Linked DNA regions of Homo sapiens: region 2 is linked to region 1. The links are contacts of gene promoters, found by promoter capture Hi-C in human tissues and cell types (Jung and others, 2019). All regions are on one chromosome and are shown on one strand. Each heading gives the region's core, a stretch centred on a gene start or on the middle of the fragment in contact. The rest is flanking DNA. Distances are from core to core; before and after follow the strand shown. Region 1 holds the start of HOXB9 (homeobox B9). Region 2 overlaps SKAP1 (src kinase associated phosphoprotein 1).

Region 1 (7,189 bases), core at 2,445-4,944:
CAACTATTTCTATCTTCTAAATCAACAAAACTTTCTCCTGACACCTAGAGAGAAGAGAGAGACAGGTAAGGGCAAAGGAAAGGAGGGAGGTTCTAGGTGCAGATAAAGGACTTGGAAGAGAGACTCCCTTCCCCATTCACTTGAATACATCCCAGACAGCACTGGCTTTGCAGTCGTCACATAACTAAGAGTGAGATGGGGAAGAGCTAGGGAGGACTGGGGGTAATCTTTAATCTTTACTCTTTGCCCTGCTCCTTATTCATTTTCTTCATTTTCATCCGCCGGTTCTGAAACCAGATTTTGACTTGTCTCTCACTCAGATTGAGGAGTCTGGCCACTTCGTGCCTACGGTCCCTGGTGAGGTACATATTGAACAGAAACTCCTTCTCTAGCTCCAGCGTCTGGTATTTGGTGTAGGGACAGCGCTTTTTCCGGGAAGAGCGAGCGTGCAGCCAGTTGGCGGAGGGGTTGGCTGAAAGAGAAGCAGCGATAGAATCAAAGAAAGGAAGGGGGTGAAGGGCCCCAGATCAAGAGGGCACTCCCTTGGTCTCCACTCCCCATCTTGCACTGGAGAAGAGGCCACCTGGGTCTTCAAGCTCCCAGGAAGGGTGTCACAGATGGGCCAGCCATTGCTATAGACACCTCCAGGTGAGAGGCTGTGTGGAAAGGATGGAGCCAAACGTGGGCCCAGGCTTCCTCAGCACTTCCAAAGCTCTGCCTACATCAAGTTCCCTCTCAATTTTTCTCTACTTGGGTCCAAACTGCTTAGGACTCAGGTCAGAGTTCAGCATGGTTGAAGTCCCACCAGCAGCACTCCCAGGCTGACTAGGGGTGGGTGGCTGACCTGAAGGGTCCTGGCTCTAGGAGGTGAGAGGAGGAGTTGGGTGGGGAAGTGAGATGTCTGTTCAGTCACTGCATTTGGGGTGTCACTTCACCCCAAGAGACCTCTCAGCCCTTCAGTCCAGTCCCAATATCCCCTGCCTTGATCACAAACAAGCTTGTGTCTCTAGACCACATGGCAGCAGGCATGTGTGTCTGCGTAGAAATCTCCCCCCCTGCCACCACCACACACCACGAATATGGGTCTGCACTTAGAGCCACAAACAGCCAGCACACTCCAATTCACACGCAATGCAATTGCAACCATTTATCAACTCCAGCTTATGGACAGGGGAGCACTGGGGGCTCACAGATAACTTATGGTTGCAATAGTCTCTCTCCTTTTCAGCTCCTGCTCAGCTCACAGTTTGGTTAACGCAAGTGCAGGGAAATTAGGGAATAAAATTGCTCCAGTCCCAAGGTGGGGAGCCAGGGGTGATGTGGAGGTAAAAGGAAGCCCTTCACAGCACACCTAGCCTTAATTGATCCTATGTGGGGGCTGGAGGGGAGAAGAGGGTAACCGAGTGGAAGAGAGGAAACAAAAATATATACAGGCTTCTCTTCTTACCTTCTCTCCCCCTACTCTGGAACTCAAAAAAGTTGCCAAATAAAGCTAAGCCAATTAAAAATAACAGCCACCAGCTACTAGCTTCCTTCTCCCCAAGTGAAAAACACTGGATTTTTTTATATAAAAAATTTGGTTCATCCTACACTAAGTACCGTGTCTTACCAATTTGCAGCGCTATTTCCTTAATGTGATTGCCTGGGATGGGACCCGCAGCCGCATTAAATATGAAAGAGGGAAAAAACTGTTAATAATTGATCCTAGCCAAATGGCTGCCTTGCCATAATGGGCTTTTCAGGCAGAATTTGGGGGTTTAGGGTGGGGGATCTGTTTGGGAGTGTGCGGGGAGGGTTGGGGAAGAATGTGTTCCCTAAATGCCAGCTCTTAGGATTCCACCTGGCAGGTTGGAGGTGACAGGACCCTGCAAGGAATGGGGCTGCTCTTTACTCTCCAGCAGGCAAGGATGCTCTAAAGGGCCCTGGGGCCACTCCGTCAATGGGAAATCTAGCAGGGCAAGGAGAGACTAAAACATCCCTACTTCCCAAAAAGAGTAAGAAACGAGGACCTGATCCACCAGCCTGCGAGTCATTGTTTGAGGCTGAGTTCCCTCACCGATGAGCCCTTCTCAACCTTAAAAATAAATAATAGGAGAACCCTCTCTTCTCATCTAGTAGCACCTCCTGAAAATCAGCCAGACTTGGCGTTCTGGCCGGGGTGCTTTTGAGGAGTGGGAGGTGACGGGAAACTACCCACAAAGGGTAAAGTTCTCCGCCTCTCTGCAACTCTCTCTTCCCCCCACCCCTCCTCTCCCCGGGGTCCCTTCGAGATGCCCCGATATTCGGAAGCGATTCCCCGACTCCCCAAGAGGCGGACAGCCCGGGCTGGGGCTCGGGAGCCCCGCAGAGAGCAGCGGGGGACCGCAGAAAAGGAAGCGGTAGCCCCTGCGAGGACGCCGAGGAGGAGAGGGGCCACCGGAGGGAAGGCTCCCGGGGAGGGGCCGGCGCATCCGGGGAGGGGGCTCAGTCACCGCGTCCTGGGCTTCCCCCGCCCCTCCTGTCGCCGGTTGCGGACTCTGCGCGGCTACAGCGCGAGATCTGCTAGGAACAATCCTCCGCCAAGCTGTTGCATCGCAAATAAAATCCTAATGAGCTCCCTCCCCCTTCCCCTTGGCCGGCTTTTACGGTCTGCGCGTGGCGCGGGGAGCTCTGCCAGCCGCACGGCCCCGGGCAGCCCAGTGCGCTCCGGCCCTTGCCCTCGCCGGCTCTCGGCCTCGCTGGCCGCTGGCCCCGGCCCCCGCCAGCTCCTCTCCCGGCCGTCGCCGGTCTCTGGCCGGGCTTTCAGCTGGGGCCTCCGGGAGAGAGGGGGAAAGAGGGCCGAGAGAGCTGCAAGTCGATCCCCGAGCCCCTGTTCCCCGCAGGACTTGGAGAAGTGGGGGCAGCGCTCCTCTGGCGGCCTCAGTCTCCCCTTCTAGAGCACGCAGCTTTCCCCTTCCCTCCGTCTTTCCTTCCTCTCCCCTCCTCCTCCCGGCCCGCTCTCCGGCCACCGCCGCAGTTTCCCTTCACATTGTCCGCAGTTTATTGCCTTTCCCCTCCCCGCCCCCCTCCTGGCCTTCGGCCTGGGTATTTCCTCACTTTTTATAACTTACTTTGATCCGGCCTCTCTTTGTCCTCGCTTCCTTCGCAAATTTTATTGTCCCCGTAGCCGGGTCTTTGATTAGACAGCACGGCCTCCCTGCCCGCCGAAGTTTCCAAACTGTACTCGGGCGTGCCCTGTTTGAGCAGCTCCCCAGGCGCGCCCAGCAGCGGCTCCGCCTTCACCGCCGCCTGGCCCTGCCCCGGGGCCGCTTCGCCGCGCGGCGCCGGCTCCAGCCAGGTGCGGAGGTACCTGCTCTCGGCCGGCGGGACGCCCTGGGGCTGGATGTAAGGGTGGTAGACGGACGGCAGGCTCCCGGACGCGTGCGGGCTCAGCGGCGCCCAGGAGGCGCCGAACACCGGCGCTTTGGGCTGGAAGCTGCACGAGGGGAACTCCAGGTGCTCCGCGTGGCCCGGCTGCCGCGAGCTCGCGTACTGGCCAGAAGGAAACTTGGCTGGAGGCGCGTCCTCACTCTCGTGACTTATGATCGAGTCGACATAATAGCTGCTAAGCGTCCCAGAAATGGACATTCTCAGACATTATCCGGGCGCTTGCAGGGGGAAGGGAAGCGCTCGCGCGGCGGCGCCCAAGCAGGGAGAGGTGGCACCCGGACCGGTGTGAGGGCTTTCGGACGCGACCCCCCCAGCCCCCCACCCTCCCACCCCCACCCCCTGCTCAACTTCTCAGCCAACAAAGTACAGTGGAGCAGCCCGTCTCAGCTCTCCTTGCAAAATGATTGGTCAAAGTTTTTCCGACTGCCTGATAAAGCGTCAGCTCCGACATAAATCAATCGGGCGAGGGGGCTGCGCTCTCGCTGTCATCCGTCCGCACCGCACTCCATATCGAGGATGGATTGTTTTATGCTGATGCAATGTGCTATCACGTCAGGGCTCCGGCGGCCACGTAACCTCAGCCCCAGCTACCGGCCGCCCGGTCCCCCCCTCCCGCTGCAGGAAGGGGGGCAGTTCTCAACATGGGGCGGCGGGGGCGGAGGAGAGGCGGAGGGAAGCGGCGGGCTGCCTTGGGAGGGACGCAGGCTGTAGAGCCCTCTCCCCAGGCGGGTCGGGGAGGGAGGGAGAGCAAGGGCGGAGGGAGGGAGAGAGCCCCAGCCCGGGGAGAAGCCATAGAGGCCCGAGAGGATACTGGAAGAGGAGGTGCTCCTGTCCCCCCACACACACCTCCACCCCGCAGGCCCTCATTTCCTCTTCTCTTTCCCCTTGACAAAAGATGTTTATTAAACAACAACAGCAGCAGCAATCCACAGGAGATGAAGTAAAATGATGAGGGGAAAAGTTGGGGATTTTAGGACGTTGTCCGCTTTGGAGGGGGCTCTCCTTGCACTCTTTGTAGAGATTTACATGACTGCGAGCTTCCCTGGGCCCCTCAGTAGCTGAGGGAGGAGGAGAGAGGTGAATAAAACGACTGAGTGTCCAAGAATCCACTATCTGTCCTGAAATTAGAAACTACTTGAGGTTAAAGGGATCCATCAGGTCCCGGAAACGTGAGCCTAGGAAAGAGTTTAATACAAGGAACCAGAGCGCCTTTACATTTATTGGGCCTTTCTCTGACTCTGGCCAGAAGGATGGATTTAAGATGGTGGTGGTGACGTGGGGGGTGGGGGTGAGGGAAGCCATTTCTCCTTTTCTCCACTGAATAACCACCCAGGCCCCTAAATTTGCCCTGATGAGGGAGCTAAATAGGAGAAAGGGTTAAGGCCACTTTCCTGAGGTGTGACCAGAGCAGAGGCCTGGGAAAGGATCCCCAGTCAGCAAGGGAAGGGGTCCCAAGTTATCTCCCCTTCCATCCAAAGAGGAAGGAGCCTGGGCTGAGTTTTCAGCCCTCCTGTACTACTCCTCTCACCTGAGGCTCCTGCTCTGGAGATTTCCAAACACCGATATAGGGGCCAGTGTGGACAGCGAGCCCATGGTCAGTCTCTTCCCCTCACTGCCTTACCCCCTGCAGACCCCTTCATTGGAGCTTCCAAATAGCCCTTTTTATATATATCTATTCTGTGGCCCTGCACAGGGACTCCCCCGGGGCCCACCGACTGGCTTCCTCGCTCCTCTCCCAGCCCCTGCTCCTCAGCTTCTGCCCTGGTTGCAGTCGCCTCTCCTGGCACTTGGGGAGGTGTGACCCCTGGACAGACCCAGTTCTCCTCTGGTTAGGCTCAGGGGTAGATTGGGGTGGATTTCTCGGCAACTCTCTGACTCTGAGTCCTAATAAGGCAGGCTGCCCTCAGTCCGGTCCTTTTAGCAAAAGAGGGGCCACTCTAACTTGAGTCCGTATCTTTTTGGCCACCTACCCCTCTGCCTTGTAGAAGGCTGCGGATCACCTCCCACACAGGCACACACTCCCACCCGCTTGTCTTTCCAAATGAAGCCATCTCGTGTCATTACACGTGAAATACGAGGGTGAAGCGCCATATTTCTTCACATTATGGCGATTTCAAAATGATTTTTTAAAGATCAATGCCGGCGCCCATCTGGCCCCCTCCTTTCCCACCCCTGCTCTCCGAGGGTGACAGCCCGGCAGATCCGTAACCAAACAGCATGAAGGTCTGCCTTTTCCATAGGACCCAAGTGGGGAAACAAAAATCCGATGCAAATTCTTCCAAGCAGAGGTTGGACGCTTGGGAAAGTCGAGGGAGCTCCCCGGACTCACCAGCGAAAAAGCTGGGCACTGAGCGAATGAATCACAGTTAAGGCAAAGCACCTGTTCTCAATTTGCCAGCCCTATGAAGTCTGCTGTTGGCTTTACCTGTCATAAATACACTCTTCAGGAAAAAAGATTCCCTCCCCCGCCATAAATAATGGTGTTATGAAGCATGGTGGGCTGAGTATATGATTTCTGTAGTATATAAATTAGGGCCTAAAAGGACATGTTTACTACGGACTGGGGTTTTTTTATTTATTGAAAAGTCACAGCGCTGGGCTGTCCTTAAGACCCAAGCAAAGCAGGCACTGCGCTCTGACTGCCGTCTTCCTGGTTCCCCTTCCCTCTCCTGCCCTGACTTTGCAGCTGCCTCTCTGCAACAAGAGAGGAGTCAAGAGGACCACTCAGTTTAGGGAAGAAGTTAGAGGAAGAAGAACACTTGGGCTGATGGCTTGTGCTCTACAAGGGTGAGTTCTCCCAGCAGACAAGATTTGGGTTTGTGGGTTGCTGTCTGTCTGAGGAGTTGCCCTTTATTCCCTGGTGGCTCCTGAGTGCTGGGTGAGAAGGGGACTTAGGCCTCTTTTCTGAGATCGGAACTTAGCCTTTGCTCATGAAGAAGCTGGAGAGTGGAGACAATTTTAAAATGACAGGTTTTGGAGGTCTTGGTCTTCTCAGGGAGCAATGACTCCAGAGGAAAGAGAATGAACTGGCCCCTAAGCCCTGTAGTCTGCATCCCAGCTCTTTGCCGTCCAGGTAAATGCACCAAGCAAGGAGTCCCACCCCAGCCAAGCTTTCTGGAAAGCACTGCTGCCCCAAACTGGAGTTCAACTCCAGCTCAGGCAAATGATTAAAGGGTCAGCTGAGAGACTGTGGACTCCCTCCCACCAAAAAAGCCTTGTTTTCTCCCCAGACAATGGTACCCACCATGAAGGAGGATAGCAAACAGGATTGTGGCTCCTGGAGCCCAGCTTCCAAAGACACTTAGTAAAGGGGTTGCTTCAGTGGGGGTCACCTTATCCTAAGAGAGCAAAACTGCTCCATACCCCACCCCCAATCCTAAACAGAAAGAAGGAAAACCCTGCCTTCCCTTGCAGCCTTTTGCCATTCCCTGCACTGGAGCCTCGCCTGAACACAGCTGGGGCCAGTAGCTGGTAGCTTGGAGAAGGGCAAGCAGGGAAAAAAGCGCAGCTCCTGGCCACACTGGGGCCCAGAGCAGCCAACAGTGAGGCCGAGGTTTGAAGAGCAGAGGCCGACCAGCCGGTGAGTGCCTATGCTGTGGGGGTGACTTTTGGAAGGGTCCTTGTCAGTAAGAAGAGAGAGAAAATCTAGAGGAAGGGAAGGAAATGGGAGAAGAAAGAAAAACAATAAGTGAGAATGGGGAAAAATAGTTTGTTTTTAATTAATAAGCTTAGCTGAAATTTACGCGTGTTTAATGTAAATAGATGTGTGTGTCCTATATGT
Region 2 (7,189 bases), core at 3,410-5,909, 220 kb before region 1:
GAGTAGCTGGGACTACAGGCGCATGCCGCCAAGCCCGGCTAATTTTTCGTATTTTAGTAGAGATGGGTTTTCATCATGTTGCCCAGGCTGGTTTCGAACTCCTGAGCTCAGACAATCAGCCTGCCTCGGCCTCCCCAACTGCTGGGATTACAGGCGTGAGCCACCGCGCCCGGCCTGGACTGTCAATTTCATAAACATGTAATATTATAAATAAGTCACAGAAGGTCACAGGCCAATAGAAGCTAGAAAGAAATACCAATAAATAGAGCCGAAATAAAAAATAGAGCTGAACTGCAAAAATCAAGAACAAAAGGGCAGGCATTCAAAGAAATATTAATTAGCAGATGCATCATCAATGAAAATGACAATACAACCAAGTGAAGGAACCCACATGAGAAAGACAAATGTCTCCAAGAGAAGGGAACTGCAATTAATGTGAACATATATTATAAAATAGGGACATGATAGAAATACATAATATGAAACAAATCATGTTATGTTGAAGGAAGAAATTGCAGAGGGGGGGTGGTTCTACAAATTTTCAAAGACAAAATACATTGATAATGATTACAACTGCCAGAAACACTGGCTACACATTTTATTCTGCACAAAAGGTTTGTCATCCCCCAAAAGCGTATAAATAATATAGTTAAAATTTTCCACCTCCAAAAATTGTGCGTGTAATATGAAACTGTATCATATATATCAGGAGTCCCCAACCCCTGGGCCACACACAGGAACCTTTATTTCCTCAGTGATCTGATAATTATGAAATTTTAAAGAAAGGGCCACATGGCAGGAGGTGAGCAGCAGATGAGCAAGTGAAGCTTCATCTGTATTTACAGCTGGTCCCCATCACTTGCATTACCACCTGAGCTCCAGCTCCTGTCAGATCAGTGGCAGCATTAGATCCTTATAGGAGCACAAACCCTATTGTGAACTGTGTATGTGAGGGATCTAGGTTGTGTGCTCCTTATGAGAATTAATGCCTGACGATCTGTCACTGACTCCTGTCACTCCCAGATGGGACCATCTAGTTGCAGAAAAACAAGCTCAAGCCTCCCACTGATTCTACATTATGGTGAGTTGTATAATTTTTTCATTATATATTACAATGTAATCATAATAGAAATAAAGTGCATAATAAATCTAATGCTCTTTAATCATCGCCAAACCATCCCCCCACCCCCGGTCCATGGAAAAATTGTCTTCCATGAAACCAGTCCCCAGTGCCAAAAAGGTTGGGGACCCCTGATACATACTATCAAAATATTGCTATGAATTTATATAGTTGGATAAGCACACCTAAAAATTTGTTTTATATTCACGTCATTTAACAACGCCAGGCCGGGCGTGGTGGCTCACGCCTGTAATCTCAGCACTTTGGGAGGCCAAGGCGGGTGGCTCACGCCTGTAATCCCAGCACTTTGGGAGGCCAAGGCGGGCGGATCATGAGGTCAGGAGATTGAGACCATCCTGGCCAACATGGTGAAACCCCCCGTCTCTCTAAAAATACAAAAATTAGCTGGGCATGCTGGCACACCCCTGTAGACCCAGCTACTTGGGAGGCTGAGGCAGGAGAATCACTTGAACCAGGGAGTTGGAGGTTGCAGTGAGCTGAGATTGCATCACTGCACTACAGCCTGGAGACAGAGCAAGACTCCGTCTCAAAAAGAAACAAACAAACAAACAAAAAAAACCACCAAACAAAAAATCCTAAATAGCCATCGCTAGGACTTTTGATGAGATACAAAGTCCTGGAAATTGAATATTTCACAAAGGACCACCATCAACATCCAAGCTCTGCATTGTATCTATTGCATATGTGATTTAATGGGTTCCACTAGGGTCCTTTGAATGCTAACGAATGAGGAAATGGGAAGCTGAATTAAAAGGCAAAAATAAATGACATCTAAGATTCAATTTATGTAATATATCATAACAATAGAATAAAGGAAAAAAACCACATGATCATCTCACTAGACACAGAAGAAGCATTTAACAAAAGTCAACAGCCTTTCGTGATAAAAATTCTCAACAAACTAGGAATAGAAGGAAGCTTCCTCAAACTAATAAAAAGCATCAACACAAACCCACAGCTAACATTGTACTTAATGATTAAAGACTGGCCAGTCATGGTGGCTCGTGCCTGTAATCCCAACCTTTTGGGAGGCCGAGGCAAGAGGATCACTTAAGGGCAGAAGTTTTGAGACTAGCCTAGATGATATAGAGAGATTCCATCTCTACAAAAGATAATTTTTAAAAAATTGGCTGGGCATTGTGGTGCATGCCTGTAGTCCTAGCTACTCAAGAGGTTCAAGTGGGAGGATCACTTGAGCCTGGAAGGTTGAGGCTGCAGTGAGCCATGACTGTGCCACTCCAGCCTGGGTGGCAGAGCAAGACTCTTGTCTCAAAAAAAAAAAAAAATTAAAAAGAAAATAAATGGTCAAAGACTGAACACTTTCCCCACGTTCCTTAGATCAGGAATAAGATAAGGATGTCTGTTCTCACCACTTATACTGAACATTGTACAGGTGATGCCAGCCAGGACAACTAAGCAAGAAAATGAAATAAAAAGCATTCAAACTGGAAAGGAAGAAGTAAAACTATTTCTATTTGCAGATGACATCCTGTATATGGAACACCCTAAGGAATCTATTAAAAAACTATTAAAACTAATAAAAGAGTTCAGCAACTTTGCAGGATATAAGATCAATGTAAAAAAATCAACTGTATTTCTTTTTTCTTTTCTTTTTTTTTTTTTTTGAGACGGAGTCTCACTCTGCCTCCCAGGCTGGAGTGTAGTGGCGCGATCTCAGCTCACTGCAACCTCTGGCTCCTGGGTTCAAGCAATTCTCTTGCCTCAGCCTCCTGAGTAGCTGGGACTACAGGCACGCACCACCACACCTGGCTAATTTTTGTATTTTTAGTAGAGACAGGGTTTCTCCTCGTTAGCTAGGCTGGTCTCAAACTCCTGACCTCAGGTGATCCACCCGCCTGGGCCTCCCAAAGTGCTGGGATTACAGGTGTGAGCCACCACGCCCAGCCAATCAACTGTATTTCTATATAGTGGCAATGAACAAACAAAAAGGACATTAATAAAATTCCATTTAAGATAGCATGTAGGATGGGCATGGTGGTCCATGCTTGGGATTATTCTCAGCACTTCGGGAGGCCAAGGCGGGCAGATCATTTGAGCCCAGGAGTTGGTCAACATGATGAAACCCCGCCTCTACAAAAAATACAAAAATTAGCCAGGCATGGTGGTGCACATCTGTGGTCCCAGCTGCTCAGGAGGCTAAGGTGGCCTCATTTGAGCCCAGGGAGGTTGAGGCTGCAGTGAGCTGAGATCACATCACTGCACTCCAGGCTGGGTGACAGAGCAAGACCTTATCTCAAAAATAAAAATTAAAAAAAAAGAAAAGAAATAAAGCAGGTAAAAGAATTAAGAATTAAGCACTTACGAATAAATAGAACATATTCTATGTTCATGATCAGAAGACTTAATATCGTTAAAATGGCAATACTCCCCAAACTGATCTAAAGCTTTTATGTAACCCCTATCAAAATCCCAGCTGGCTTTTTTTGTAGAAATTGAAAAGCTAATCCTAAAATTAACTTGGAAATGTAAGGAATCCAGATAGCCAAAACAATTTTGAAAAAGAGAGACAATGGCCGGGCGTGTTGGCTCACACTCGTAATCCCAGCACTTTGGGAGGCTGAGACGGGTGGATCACCTGAGGTCAGGAGTTCAAGACCAGACTGGTCAACACGGAGAAACCCTGTCTCTACTAAAAATACAAAAATTAGCTGAGTGTGGTGGCTAGTGCCTGTAATCCCAGCCACTTGGGAGGCTGAGGCAGAATAATTGTTTGAACCTGGGAGGCCGAGGTTGCAGTGAGCCGAGATCATGCCACTGCACTCCAACCTAGGCAACAGAGCAAGACTCTGTCTCAAAAAAGAAAAAAAAAAGGAAAGAAAAAGAAAGACAAATTTGGAGGACTCACACTTTCTGACTTCAAAACTTACCACAAAACTACAGCAATTAGGAAAATATGGTACTGGCATAAGGACAGAGATAAAGTTCAAAGGAATAGAATTGGGAATCCAGAAATAAACCCTCACACTTATGGTCAATTTTTGCAAGAGGGTCAAGACAATTAAATGTTGAAAAAGTTGTTTTTTCAACAAATGGTGCTGAGACAACTGAGTATACACATGCAAAAGAATGAAGTTGGATTCCTACCTCACACCATATAAAAAAATTAACTAAAAATGGATCAAAGACCTAAATATAAGAGCTAAAACTATGAAACTCTTAGAAAAAGACAGGTGTAAATCTTTGGGTCCTTGGATTAGGTAATGGTTTCTTAGATATGACACCAAGAAAAAAAAAGCAACCAAATACAAAAATAGACAAACAAGGCATCATCAAATTTAAAAGCTATTGTGCTTCAAAGAAGGCCAACAAGAAAGCAAAAGGATAACCCACAGAATGAGAGAAAAGCTTTTGCAAATCATATAGCTGATGAAAGACTTGTATGTAGAATATATTAAAACTCTTATATTTCAGTAATAATAAGACAAATAGCCCAACTGAAAAATGAGAAAAGGAACTGAATAGACATATCTCTAAAGAAGATACACAAATGACCAATAAGCACATTAAAAGATGTTCAATATCACTAGCCATCAGGGAAATGCAAATCAAAATCATGAAATACCACTTCACACCCACTAGAATGGTTACAGGCGAAAAGAACAACAATGAATGTTGTTGAAAATGTAGAAAAATTGGAAACCTTATACATTGCTGGTAGGAATGTAAAACAGTGCAGCCACTTAGAAAAATAATCTAGCAGTTCCTCAAAAGGCTAAACAGAGAATTATCATAGGATCCAGAAATTATATTACTAGGAAATACCCAAAAGAAATGAAAACAGGTGCTGACACAAAAACTTTACACAAATATTCATAGCAGCATTTTTTTTTTTTTTGAGACAGAGTCTCGCTCTATTGCCCAGGCTGGAGGGCAGTGGTGCGATCTCAGCTCACTGCAACCTCTGCCTCCCGGATTCAAGTGATTCTCGTGCCTCAGCCCCCCAAGTAGCTGGGATTACAGGTGCATGCCACCATGCTGGGTTAATTTTTGTATTTTTAGTAGAGATGGGGTTTCATCACTTCGCCCAGGCTGGTCTTGAACTCCTAGACTCAAGCAAACTGCCTGCCTTGGCTTCCCAAATTGCTGGGATTACAGGCGTGAGCCACCATGCCTGGCATAGCAGCATTATTCTTAATAGCTAAAAAGTGGAAACAACCCAAATATCCATTAACTGATGAATGGATAGATAAAATGTAGCATACAATGGAATATTATTCAGCAATAAAAGGAAATGAAATGCTGATATGTGCTACAACATGGATGAATCTTTAAAATCATTATGCTAAGTGAAAGGAGCCAGTCACAAAGGACCACATATCGTATGATTCCATTTACATGAAATGTATAGAATAGGCAGATCTAAAGAGACAGAAAGTAGATAAAGAAAGTCAGGAAGAGGGATTGGAGAGTGAAGGCTAAGAGGTTCAGGTTTTCTTTCGGTGTAATGAAAATGTTCTAAAATTTACTGTGGTGATAGTTACACAATTCTGTGAATATACTAGAAGCCATTGAGTTGTATGCTTTAAATGTGTGAGTTGTATAGTATGTGAATTATATCTCAATGAAGCTGTTTAAAAAAATAAATAAATACCTGTAATCTCAGCATTTTGGGAAGCCAAGGTAGGAGAACTGCTTGAGCCCAGGAGTTCAAGACAAGCCTGGGCAAAAATCAAGACCCTGTCTCTACAAAAAAAAAAAAAAAAAGTTTTTAATTAACTGGACATGGTGGTGCACGCCTGTAGCTACTTGGGAGGCTGAGACAGTAGGATCCATTGAGCCCAGGAGTTCAAGGTTGCAGAGAGCGGTGATTAACCCACTGCATTCCAGCTGGGTGACAGTGCAAGACTCTGTCTCAAAATACTATATTGAATATTTTTTATTACATTTACACTTTGAAAATCATAGTTAAAATATATATACATATATATATATGTATCAGTGTGTGTGTGTGTATAAATAACAACACCTACACATATCCTTTTGAGCTTTCAAAATTTCAAGGAAAGTGAAAACATCTCTCAAGCACCCAGAGAGAAAAAATAAGACACCTACAGAACAACAGCAACAAGAACAACAAAATCAAAATGGCCTTGCTACAAAATAAGCATCAGAAGATGAGACGTGTACAAAGTTTTAAAGGAAAAATGGTGTGCTCTAAGAATTCCAAGCATAGTCAAGATGTTGGTTTGGCCATATAGAAGGAGAAAATCTTCTGAAGTATATGTTCTGATCCACAAAGAGAAAGAGGTGGTGATAAATGTCAAACTGCAAAACAAGTTAAATCTAGATCACAGCCGGGCACAGTGGGTAACGCCTGTAATCCCAGCACTTTGGGAGGCAGAGGCGGGCAGACCACTTGAGGTCAGGAGTTTGAGACCAGCCTGGCCAATATGGCGAAAACCCATCTCTACTAAAAATATAAAAAAATTAGCCAGGCATGATGGCGGACACCTGTAATCCTTGCTACTTGGGAGGCTGAGGCAGGAGAATCCCTTGAACCTGGGAGGCGGAGAGTGCAGTGAGCTGAGATTGCGCCACTGCACTCCAGCCTGGGAGACAGAGTGAGACTCTGTCTCGGAAAAAAAAAAAAAAAATAGAAATCACTGTGGTCTACATGGTTTAAAATTTATAAAAATATTAATATCAAAAATAATTCTTGGCTGGGTGAGGTGGCTGACACCTGTAATCCCAGCACTTTGGGTGGCCGAGGCGGGCGGATCACCTGAGGTTGGGAGTTCAAGACCAGCCTGACCAACATGGAGAAACCCCATCTCTACTAAAAATACAAAATTAGCCGGGCGTAGTGGCACATGCCTGTAATCCCAGCTACTCCCGAGGCTGAGGCAGGAGAATTGTTGGAACCCAGGAGGTGGAGGTTGCAGTGAGCTAAGATCATGCCATTGCACTCCAGCCTGGGCAAGAAGGGTGAAACTCTATAGAAACAAAACCAAAACAAAAATTCGTATGGCGAGACAATGTAAAAAATGTAAAAATAGTCTAATTCCTAGTTAGAAAATGAATAGAGAG

Evidence for each region. The method cuts DNA at HindIII sites, captures the fragments that hold promoters and counts their contacts. A contact is called where the count stands out against the background at its distance.
Region 2: a fragment that was not itself captured here is called in contact with the fragment with the promoter of HOXB9 in region 1 in 4 of the 25 tissues and cell types used here (H1 embryonic stem cells, mesenchymal stem cells, pancreas and 1 more).

The regions. Positions count from the first base shown.
Region 1 is chr17:48,622,664-48,629,852 of GRCh38, forward strand. It overlaps HOXB9 (homeobox B9), which reads right to left and starts at 3,695. Exons shown (of 2, transcript NM_024017.5): 1 at 3,090-3,695; 2 at 1-472. The coding sequence starts at 3,606. The coding sequence ends at 237. HOXB-AS4 (HOXB cluster antisense RNA 4) reads left to right here and starts at 6,035. Exons shown (of 2, transcript NR_046611.1): 1 at 6,035-6,195. RefSeq lists an enhancer at 2,548-3,225 and a silencer at 4,636-4,791. The HindIII fragment of the contact is 6,922 bases long and covers 1-6,826 here.
Region 2 is chr17:48,397,351-48,404,539 of GRCh38, forward strand. The region is part of intron 1 of SKAP1 (src kinase associated phosphoprotein 1); the gene reads right to left. Among named protein-coding and RNA genes, the nearest start is that of SKAP1, 29 kb to the right of the region's middle. The HindIII fragment of the contact is 6,433 bases long and covers 1,444-7,189 here.